2 separate regions of the Homo sapiens genome follow, and region 2 is linked to region 1. The links are contacts of gene promoters, found by promoter capture Hi-C in blood cells and fetal thymus (Javierre and others, 2016). All regions are on one chromosome and are shown on one strand. The core of a region is centred on a gene start or on the middle of the fragment in contact, and the rest is flanking DNA. Distances in the headings are between cores, read along the strand shown.

Region 1 (5,237 bases), core at 2,088-4,587:
AATTAAATATATATATGACATATACATTTAATTTTTAAAATTAAATATATGATATATATGACATATACATTTAATTTTTAAAATTAAATATATGATATATATGACATATACATTTAATTTTTAAAATTAAATATATGATATATACATTTAATTTTTAAAATTAAATATATGATATATACATTTATTTTTTAAATTAAATATGTGATATATACATTTAATCTTTAAAATTAAATATATGATATATACATTTAATCTTTAAAATTAAATATATGATATATACATTTAATCTTTAAAATTAAATATATGATATATACATTTAATCTTTAAAATTAAATATATGATATATACATTTAATCTTTAAAATTAAATATATGATATATACATTTAATCTTTAAAATTAAATATATGATATATACATTTAATCTTTAAAATTAAATATATGATATATAATTAAATATAGAATATATACACATTTAATTTTAAAAATCATTTTTTAATAGAGGTAGGGTCTTACTATGTTGCCCAGGCTGGTCTCAAACTCCTGGACTCAAGCGATCCACCTGCCACAGCCTCCCAAAATGCTGGGATTACAGGCATGAGTTACCATGACCAGCCCAAAACTTTTCATCTTGAAGGAAGACTCAGAAGCTCAGGAGCAATGAGAGGTTATGCATGGCAGTGCCTATGACAACAAACACTCAATAGCGGTGGTGCTAGCAGTAGTGGCACAATGGGGACAACCACAAATGCTGAAAAAGATGTGTTGTAGTTGAAATTGGTTCTTATTTCTACTGGAGGTCGTGTTAACCATCAAAAACAAAATAAGCGTAGTTATCATAATAGGCAGTTGAGCCTGTGTGGATATCTGAATGATCTAACCCACAGATTCTTTATAGTGGTTATTGATCATGGGGTCCTTAAAAAATGTGTGTTCATTCAATAAGATTCTACTGGAAAGTATAAGCTCTGTGATGGCAAGGATTTTAGACTGTTTATTCAGTGTTGCATCACAAACACCTAGAACAGTTTGTGTCACATAGACCTGCCCAATAAATATTTGTTGAGTGAATGAACAGGAGCCTAAAATGAGCCATCATGGTAGAAAATCAGGTCCCTCATCCAATTTTCAGCCCTGAGTCAGACCTAGAAGCTCTGAAATTTAAAAAAAAAAAAAAAAGCATTTTACCAGTTAGGAAGAATCTTGTAATATTTTGCAAGTATTTACGGTGAATATTCTTCTTAATCTTTGCCAAAGAGACCTGCTGTCATTTCCAGGGTAACTGTGCACTTGGGAAAAGGAGATGCCCAGAGTTTTGCAAACCAGATCAGATCTAGTAAATGTCAGATCTGAGATGTGAATGCAGCTCTATTTCATTTAGAAACCAATTTATTTGTTTGTTTGTTTGTTTGTTTGTTTGTTTGTTTGTTTTTGAGACAGAGTCTCATTCTGTTGCCCGGGCTGGGGTGGAATGGCACGATCTCAGCTCACTGCAAAATCTGCCTCCCAGATTCAAGCAATTCTTGTGCCTCAGACTTCTGAGTAGCTGGGATTACAGGTGCGCAACACCACATCTGGATAATTTTTTTGTATTTTTAGTAGAGAAGGGGTTTCCCCATGTTGGCCAGTCTGGTCTCTAACTCCTGTCCTCAAGTGATCCACCCACCTTGGCCTCCCAAAGTGCTGGGATTACAGACGTGAGCCACTGCATCTGGCCCCAATATTTTCTATATTTACCTGATGATAATAATTATCTGGGGGCACTTGGAAAATATACAGACTCCTGAGCCCCACCCCTTCTAAATCAGAATTGCCAGGGGACGGTCCCGGCAATTTAGGTTTTTAACAACAACCCTGTCAATAAGGTAATTCTTATTACCACACATTTGGGAGACATCTGGTGCCCTTTTCTTTTGGGAACTAGAAGGTCATGAAAGGGTCAGGGATCTAACCATTATGCATTTCAAGATTTAGCCAGTGATACTGGCTTTTCATCTTTACTGTTTTTAGAGTGACCCTATTTGGTTGTTAATGGCTCCAACAGTCAGCCTTTTTGAACTGTGGGAAAGACGGTGGGGCAGCAATTAGGACTCAAGGGTAGGTGCACACAGCTTGATTGAAAACAGTCTGAAAGCATTCCATCTTAAGGAATGTGAGCATATATTACTACTGTATATGCCATTATTTTAGGAGGAGACCTTGACTCTATTTATTTTGCAAAAGAGGTGATAATTCAAGGAATAATATGATATTGTAGAATCATGCAGTGCTTCACACTGAACTCTCTTAAGATGTGTGCATGTTAAACTGACTAATTAATAAGGTGAATAAGGTAATTGATAACAGATTGAAGAAGTATGGTAAGCTACAATCTCATCTTGCAATACATAGAACATCAAGATGTAAAGCAAGAATCTCTTCTCACTAAAATCACTTTAAAATGCAGTATTTGGTCTTTATATATTCTAAAGAAAGTACAGCACTTTTTCAAATGTAAGTGATATTGTATTGACGATTCATTATTAACAATAATCCTTCCAGTTTTCAGTTTTCCCTCCACCCCCCATAGGAAAGCCTTTTGGACATTATATAAGCTTCCCTACAATCCCAAGACTTAAAAGCCCTCTCTGGGTGTGACACTGAAGAATTCTATTCTCAGTAATTCTTGGCTAAAGTTTGAAGGATTATAGGGCTTTTGGTCTCTCATCTTAATATTTACTTCCTATTAGGGAAGAACAGGAGAAATGAAGAGTTGTTTAATGAGAAAACCAAGAGCCTGAAGAGTCTTCAGAGGAAGGGAGTTCAAACCTCTTGGAAGCTGATGTTTTAATTTTAATTTTTTAAAGATGAGGTTTCACTCTGTTGCCCAAGCTGAAGTTCAGTGGTGTGATCACAGCTCACAGCAGCCTTGAATTCCTGGGCTGAAGCAATGGAGGTTGATGTTTTAAATGGGCAGAATATCCAGGAGTTACTGCTTATTAAAATTACATCAAATGTAACCGTTTACAAGACCCTTAGGAGCTGAGTTTAGCAATGCAAAAGTCACCCTAGCATGGGAGAGGTTGGAGCAGACAAGAGATCTTGGGCACAATTATAAAGAACTTGTCAAATAAAATAGTATGAACTAAAGGCTTAAGTATAGGAGGAGTCTTGTATGTCCAAGGGGATTCAGCAGATTAGGTAAGATAAAGACTTATCTTCAGATTAAGGCCTACACCAGAGGTAAGTAGATCACTGCCAGATAGAATCTGGAACCCCTTAGAGAAGGTGTCATTACGTGTTCACAATGGATATAGTTCTATTGACTGGGGGGTAATTCTGCCCCTAACAAATTACTGTGTCAGGAAGAGCATGGCAACATGAGCAGTGCTGGTGAGTCTCTGCCAGGGATGTCTCCAAGGCCTTGAGTCTCTCAAATAAGGCAAACCATTCATCTTCCCAATTGTTAATAGATCTGAGCCATTCAGGGGCACCATGGGTGACTTTTGTGTTATTCATGCCTTTGTTTTCCTTCTCTTTCTCCTTCTTCCCCTTCCTCCTACCTTCTGCCACCAGATCTTTGAGGATAGTACAGGGCCTTATTCATAAGACAACTAAGGCAAGAGGGAGGAAGTAAAATGTGGATTGGGCCACCTCTCCTCCAGAGAGAAGACTGGTATGGGGTTTGAGATTATGCAGTGATTTCATTTGTTGCCAAGTCAATATTATTATGGCGTGGAATGGGTGCTAAAAGCCTTCTCAAATTATTAGGAAGTTTGAAGGCAGAACAGGTAAGAAGGAAAAACAAGAATGGAGAAATGAGAGGATGAGGAAGGGAAGGATGTACAGAGCCTTGTCTCTATATCTCCTTAAGACTGTTTTGGCAATGGCAAGCCCTAGCATAGTCAGGCCCCTTGCCACCAGCGGTGTGTGTAGCTGTGAACAACAATCACTAGGGAATTTCTGCCAAACCCCACTTTTCTGTATTCAGATGGGCTCAGTAATATACTCATTCAACAAATCCATGTTAGACTCTATGAATGATAAACAAACAAAAGTCCAAAAGATTGAAAATCATTGGCTGGGAGCGTTGGCTCACCCTTGTAATCCTAGTACTTTGGGAGGCTGAGGCAGGTGGATTACCTGAGGTCAGGAGTTCAAGACCAGCCTGGCCAACATGGTAAAACCCCATCTCTACTGAAAATACAGAAATTAGCCAGGTGTGGTGGCATGCACTGTAATCCCAGCTACTGGAGAGGTTGAGACACAAGAATCACTTGAATCTGGGAGGCAGAGTCTGCAGTGAGTTGAGATCTTGCCACTGCATTCCAGCCTGGGTGACGGAGTGAGACTTTGGCAAAAAAAAAAAAAAAAAAAGATTGAAGATTATCTTTTGAAAGAACAATTTATTCCACATTTACAGAACTTAGACATTGTGCAAACACTTTTAGAGCCTAGAGGAAGAAAGGTGAAAAAACAAAGTCCCTCCTCTCACACGCTCAGTCTGATGAGGAAGACAGATATATCGATGGATAAAAACAGTCAGACTTGTTAATTGTAATAATGGAGGATATACGTGATGGTATAGGGAGATAGTGATGAATTCTACCATTGCAGTAGATTCTACCTTTCTTGGCTCACCAAGATTATATGTAAACCAGTTCTTAATGGATGACTATTAATTTGTGAGCTGACTGTGCTTAAGAAAACATTTGAAGCAATGGGAATATGGGAACAAAGACATGGAGGTTTCAAGTGAGAGTACCTAGCACATGCAGGAAACAGCAATGCCTTGGCTTAGCTTGCAAACAGGAGGCAGAGTGCGCAGAGAGGCAGGAAATGAGACTGGGAGGAAACTCAAAAGCCAGATGGGGTAAAGCCTCAGATACTATACTAGAGAGTTTGGACTTTACCTTCTAGGACATCAAGGAGATTTTGAAAGACTTTAACAATAATAATATCAACAGATTATGGTGGCAGTACGTGTAGGGTGGTTGGAAGGGCAAGAGGTGGGAGCTAGGGAGACCATTTAAGAAGCTGATGCAGAAGTCTAGGTGAGAGAGCATAGAGGCCTGTAATGGAAGAGTAACTTTATGGATGGAAAGGAGAAGACAGATTCCAGAGATAGGTACAAAGAGAAACCATACAGCATGATCCCCCATTGCATGTAGGGACATGGAGGGGAGAGAGAGAGAACAAGAGAGTAAGAGCAAGAGTAAGAGAGATTGAGAGTGAGAGTGAGAGTGAGAGACAGGGACAG
Region 2 (5,742 bases), core at 1,334-3,833, 320 kb after region 1:
AGTTTCCTAATCCCCCTGTTTTCTTATCTGGGGATAATGTTACTCTTACTTCAGGGGGTTAGTGAGGAGTAGTTGCGTTCATTTTAAGGTGTTTAGCACAGTGCCTGTCACATTGTAGGCTTTCTGTTAAACGTTAACTGTTATTACTAGATTTTATTATAGTAAGCACTTAGAAAATGCTGAATGAATGAATGAATGAATGAATGATTGTCTTACCCTCTGGTCCATCAAGAGCAGAAGATTATACAAGAAAATGACCAGATTATTCTCTATTTAGGTGCTGTTCCAGACCAAATTTTGCCACACCTTGTTTTTGCTGTTAAGACACATATATTCAGGCCAAGCACAGTGGCTCACACCTGTAATCCCAACACTTTGGGAGGCCAAGGCGGGCAGATCACCTGAGGTCAGGAGTTCGAGACCAGCCTGGCCAACATGGCAAAACCCCATCTCTACTAAAAAAATACAAAAATTAGCTGGGCGTGGTGATGCACGTCTGTAATCCCAGCTACTCAGAAGGTTGAGGCAGGAGAATCACTTGAACCTGGGAAGTGCAGGTTGCAGTGAGCCAAGATCGCATGCCACTGTACTCCAGCCTGAGCAACAGAGCGAGACTCCATCTCAAAAAAAAAAAGACACATACATTCAGGTACTTCTCACATACCCTGAGGCATTAGCAAGGTGCTACATGGAGTCATGTCTACTGTCCCACTTGGTGACCAATAGTCAACATTAGCAAAAACTTTGACCATAATGAAGAATATAGGTTATGGTTATACCCAAAAAAAATTATTCTGGAAATGCTGTTTTCTGTGGCACTCAATCTTTCACTTTTGGCCTCAGGTAGCATTAGAATAAGTCAATTCTGGGAATCATGGAAAATCAATAAATTTGTTGTCTTTCTTCTGGGGATATATTTAAAATAACCCTCAGCCTTTGGGAGGCTGAGGTGGGTGGATCACAAGGTCACGAGTTCAAGACCAGCCTGGCCAACATAGTGAAACCCTGTCTCTAATAAAAATACAAAAAATAAGCTGGGCATGGTGGCAGACGCCTGTAATCCCAGCTACTCAGGAGGCTGAGGCAGGAGAATTGCTTGAACCCGGGAGGCGGAGGTTGCAGTGAGCCGGGATCGCGCCACTGCACTCCAGCCTTGGCCAAAGTGCAAGACTCCATGTCAAAAACAAACAAACAAAAAAAAAAACAAATAAAATAACCCTCAGCCAACAACTCAACAGGATGACCAGCTGGACAGCAGCCATTTGAAAACGCTCCAATTTCAAGAAATTGTGTTGATAAATCATTTTCCAAATATTCTCCAGAAAAACTCCTATGATGAAAGAAAAATGAAGCATGTATTTATCATCAGTCCCTCTATGTTGCCTTCCCACTGAAATTCAGAACAAAAGCCACAAACATGCCATATTTTCTCAGATCTTTATACAGTTCCCTGAGCATGGAACGTCCTCCACACCTCCCATTTCACCCAGCCCCTTAATCCCAGTGAGTCATAGTTGTATAGTGCAGAGATTAGTAGTTGAATTCAAATCCCAGCTCCATATTTCCCAGACTGAGTGACAATGGGCAAAGTTATTTAACTTCCCTGTTAATCAGTTTCCTATAGGGATGATGGTTACACCAACCTTGTGGGGCTTTGGAAAAAAATAAATAGCTTAATATTCGGAAAATGCATAGAATAGGGCACTTCTGGCACAGAGTGAGCATTACATAAGTTGTGTCATTATTGTCTTTCAAGTCCTAGCACCAGTTTCACAGAAACCTGAAGGTTTGTTCATTCCCCTGGGCAGGGTTATGCACCTCCTTCTCCATGCTTGTACTCGTCTCTACTGTAATATGTATCACATTCAGTTATAAAGGTTAGTGTGTATGTCTCCCTTGCCACTACTCAGAACTATAGGAAATACAAAGGCAGTCATTTTACCTTTTTTTTTTTTTCAGGTAGGGTCTCACTCTGTCGCGCAGGCTGGAGTGCAGTTGTGTGATCTTAGCTCACTGCAACCTCCACCTCCTAGGTTCAAGCGATTCTCCTGCCTCAGCCTCCTGAGTAGCTGAGACTACAGGCGCATGCCACCACGCCTGGCTAATTTTTGTATTTTTAGTAGAGATGGGGTTTCACCGTGTTGGCCAAGCTGGTCTGGAACTCCTGACCTCGGATGACCTGCCCACCTCGGCCTCCCACAGTGCTGGGATTACAGGCATGAGCCACCACACCCAGCCCATCTTACCTTTAGAGTTTTCAAGCCTTACAACAGAGCTGTGAACATAGCAGATGCACAACAAATATTTGGTTAATGTATGAAATCATTAATTAAATGTCATTTAAACTTTTCAAGCTTCTCATGAAGTCAGTATTTTCCCCTCCTTGTATGAAACTGTCGAGCAATGGCTATTTCTGTGGCTGCTTCTAAAGCCAAACAAGGTAAGGTTTTCAGTTATCTCAGAGACTGTACAATAATCACTGGTATCATAAAAATTCATTATTATCCCTGTTAATAGAGTGGATAAATATCCTTGCTGGGACAGCAGTGTCTTGGCCCAGCATGTGTCATCTATAGAGTGGACTCTTAGAGTTTCCTTAGGCAGCTCTCCAGCAGTGCATCCCTCCAGCATTGCTGGGATATGGGACATGTCGCAGCTCCCAGAAGAGATCTCCCAGTGGCTAGTCACGGTCAATCTGCAATCAGAGAAGGGTTTTGGCAAGAAAGTGATCCAAGGAGACACTGAAAATAGCAAGTTCATTGAAGGCCAAGGGAACATCCCCTTGTGAAAGTAAGAAAGGATGATAAAATAAGAAGCTTACTGGCAGTGAAAAGAAAACATCCTGTCTGAGTTGAATTGCAGGAGGGGGAGTCAGGGAAGGCTCCAGCCACCTTGGAAAGGCAGCATGGAGCAGCAGGGAAGCCACCAGATTTGGAATCTGAACAATCAAGTCTCAGTTCTTCATTTGATGAGCGCACTTTCTCCTCTTTAAAATGGAGACCCAGCCTGATGTGGTGGCTCATGCCTGTAATCCCAGCACTTTGGGAGGCTGAGCCGGGCAGATCACCTGAGGTCGGGAGTTCAAGACCAGCCTGACCAACATGGAGAAAACCCGTCTCTACTAAAAATACAAAATTAGCCAGGTGTGGTGGCACATGCCTGTAATCCCAGCTACTCGGGAGGCTGAGGCAGGAGAATCACTTGAACCTGGGAGGCAGAGGTTGCAGTGAGCCAAGATCACGCCATTGCACTCCAGTGTGGGCAACAAGAGCGAAACTCCATCTCAAAAAAAAAAATAATAAAATAAAATAAAATAAAATGGAGACTGAAACAAAGAAAACTGTGAAGCACACTATGAATGTAAAAATTTATCCTGTGTTGTTAGAAAGGCCCCTTCACACAGTAATTCACAGAAAGGGTTCCCACTCTGAACAAGGTCTTTCCATCTTCTCCACTTGAGGGCTGAAAGGGATGTCTCTGCCTCCTTTTGATTTAAATTAGCAGGTTCTTAAGAAGTGAGGGTGGGCAACAGAATTGGAGGCTTTCATGAGACAAAACTTACTAGGAATTTGCTTAGGAATCTGCTTTTGGGAGGCACTATGTAAACCCACACAGTGTGACTTACAGCCTATGAGGAACTTTCTTATGTTAGGCTCAAGTGTTAAAAATGCAAACCGCCTGTGGTGCACTGCTGGAGCTGCTATCCCCACCTAGCAAGAGCTGACTGCACACGTCTCTTCCCACCTCCTTGAAATTGGCCCTGGTAGAAGTGTTTACCTCATGGTAATTGACAAATGCTACAAATCAGGGTGTCTTTTCTTCTCTGTCTCCAGGAGCTTGCTTATGAGCACACCTCTGACTGAGGTCCACAGGACTCAAGATTCCTCCAGCCATCACTCTCCACTACAAATGCCACAAAAATGAAAATTTGACCATATACATAAGTACTAGATGGGAAACACTGAAAAGATACACCATGAGGAGGGAGAAAAAACAAAAAGCCAAAAAATCTTAGTATATCAACTGCACATTCCTACCACACGGAGATCTGACAATGAAGTATCTTGAGGGTTTTTGGGGGTTTTTTTGTTTTTTAAACTAAGAATAACTGTAATATGCCAGAGAATTTTGAATCAGCCTTATCTGTAGTCTCAAATGAATATATTCAAAAGTCATATTATAGCAGAAATGCAAATATCTTGATTGCATATTGAGGATAATATAATGGTGGAACAACTAGCTTGTCAAATAGGTGATCGGGATGGAATAAAAATGCATTCTTGGTTGTCTTCTATCCCAATGAGTTAAAGTAATATTGCACTTATAACTTTTCAATACATTATGGTCATATTGTTTCCTCATGCGTATTTTATTTGTTCTTTTTATCGTTTAAATGGATTGTTCCTTTTCTTCTGGAACTCCAAACATTATGCTAGGTTTTCAAGGCTGGTGCTTGTGATAGGGGAAGAGAATAATGCCTGTGTGTGTAAGGTGCTTGATGTTTCTCAGAGGCCTTTCCTATATGCAATCCTCACTTAATCGTTATACACACCCCCAAAGCAAGGCATACCCATTTTCAGACAAGGAAGAAGACACTCACATGATAAGAAGAGCTACTGGAATCTGGACCCTGCTGTCATTATTGTTCCTGGACATTAGATGTTGACTGTTATAGCCATCGATAATGCTGCCACTAGAATGATGGTCGAATTGTCTCTACTTCTTTGCATCACTCTTACAGTCATAAAACTCAAAACAAGAACATCTGCTTAACCGGGCTTAGGTCTCCTGTACGTACACTAACTGGCGAGATTTCAAGTGAACCGGCAGCTTGTATTTTTTGGGCTTCTGCTGTGAAATGAAAATCCTTCATCTAACAAGACAAAAAATGGTACATTCTCCAAACACAGGAGGAAGTTTAAATTCAGAAGAGTAGATATTATTATTACTATTATAGTAAGCATCTATTCTACCCATGGGAGCCTATCATCTTTTGAGTCTTTTCTCTATATTTGGAGACATATCCAAATTATGAGTTGTTATATAGGATTCACAATGCAAATTTCCAGCTGCCCTTGCAGCTAGGATTCAGGGACATGAATTACTTGGTGTCAATCAAGGACACCATATCATTATAAGATTTTGATTCAAGGCCAGCTGCAGTGGCTCATGCCTGTAATCCCAGCACTTTGGGAGGCCGAGGCAGGCAGAAAACTTGAGTTCAGGAGTTTGAGGCCAGCCTGGCCAACATGGTGAAACCCTGTCTCCACTAAAAATACAAAAAGTAGCCAGGGATGGTGGCAGGCGCCTGTAATCCCAGCTACTCGGGAGGCTGAGGCAGGAGAATTGCTTGAATCTGGGAGGCAGAGGTTGCAGTGAGCTGAGATTGTGCCACTGCAGTCCAGCGTGGGCAACAGAGTGAGACTCAAGAATAAAAATAAAAAATAAAATAAATAAAAAATAAAATGACACCAATTTATTTTTAAAAATGTTTTTGATTCAGAAGGAAGCAATAAGAAGAAAAAGGCTCTGCAGAAAAAGGACCTTGAATCTTTGCAAATTTGATGGTGAAGGGGATGCAGAGGTATCTGGTATTTTTTTGTGGTGGCTGTTTCCCAGGGTTTACAATAGGGTATTTTGGAGATAAAAGCAATAGCTGTGGAACAGCAGCATTTTTCCATTAAATCTGCTGTTTAGTTTGGGATATTATTCCTCAAGGCTTATTCTCAAGCCCAGTTTTCC

What was found. Contacts are between HindIII fragments. The CHiCAGO score rates a contact against its expected background, and 5 or more counts as called.
Region 2: a fragment that was not itself captured here is called in contact with the fragment with the promoter of RGSL1 in region 1 in 8 of 17 cell types (M1 macrophages, M2 macrophages, M0 macrophages and 5 more); the score reaches 15.0 in M1 macrophages.

Annotation. Positions count from the first base shown.
Region 1 is chr1:182,446,809-182,452,045 of GRCh38, forward strand. It overlaps RGSL1 (regulator of G protein signaling like 1), which reads left to right and starts at 3,338. Exons shown (of 22, transcript NM_001137669.2): 1 at 3,338-3,370. The coding sequence starts at 3,358. RefSeq lists an enhancer at 3,176-3,783. The HindIII fragment of the contact is 4,233 bases long and covers 2,591-5,237 here.
Region 2 is chr1:182,767,708-182,773,449 of GRCh38, forward strand. No RefSeq gene overlaps it. Among named protein-coding and RNA genes, the nearest start is that of NPL, 19 kb to the right of the region's middle. The HindIII fragment of the contact is 462 bases long and covers 2,353-2,814 here.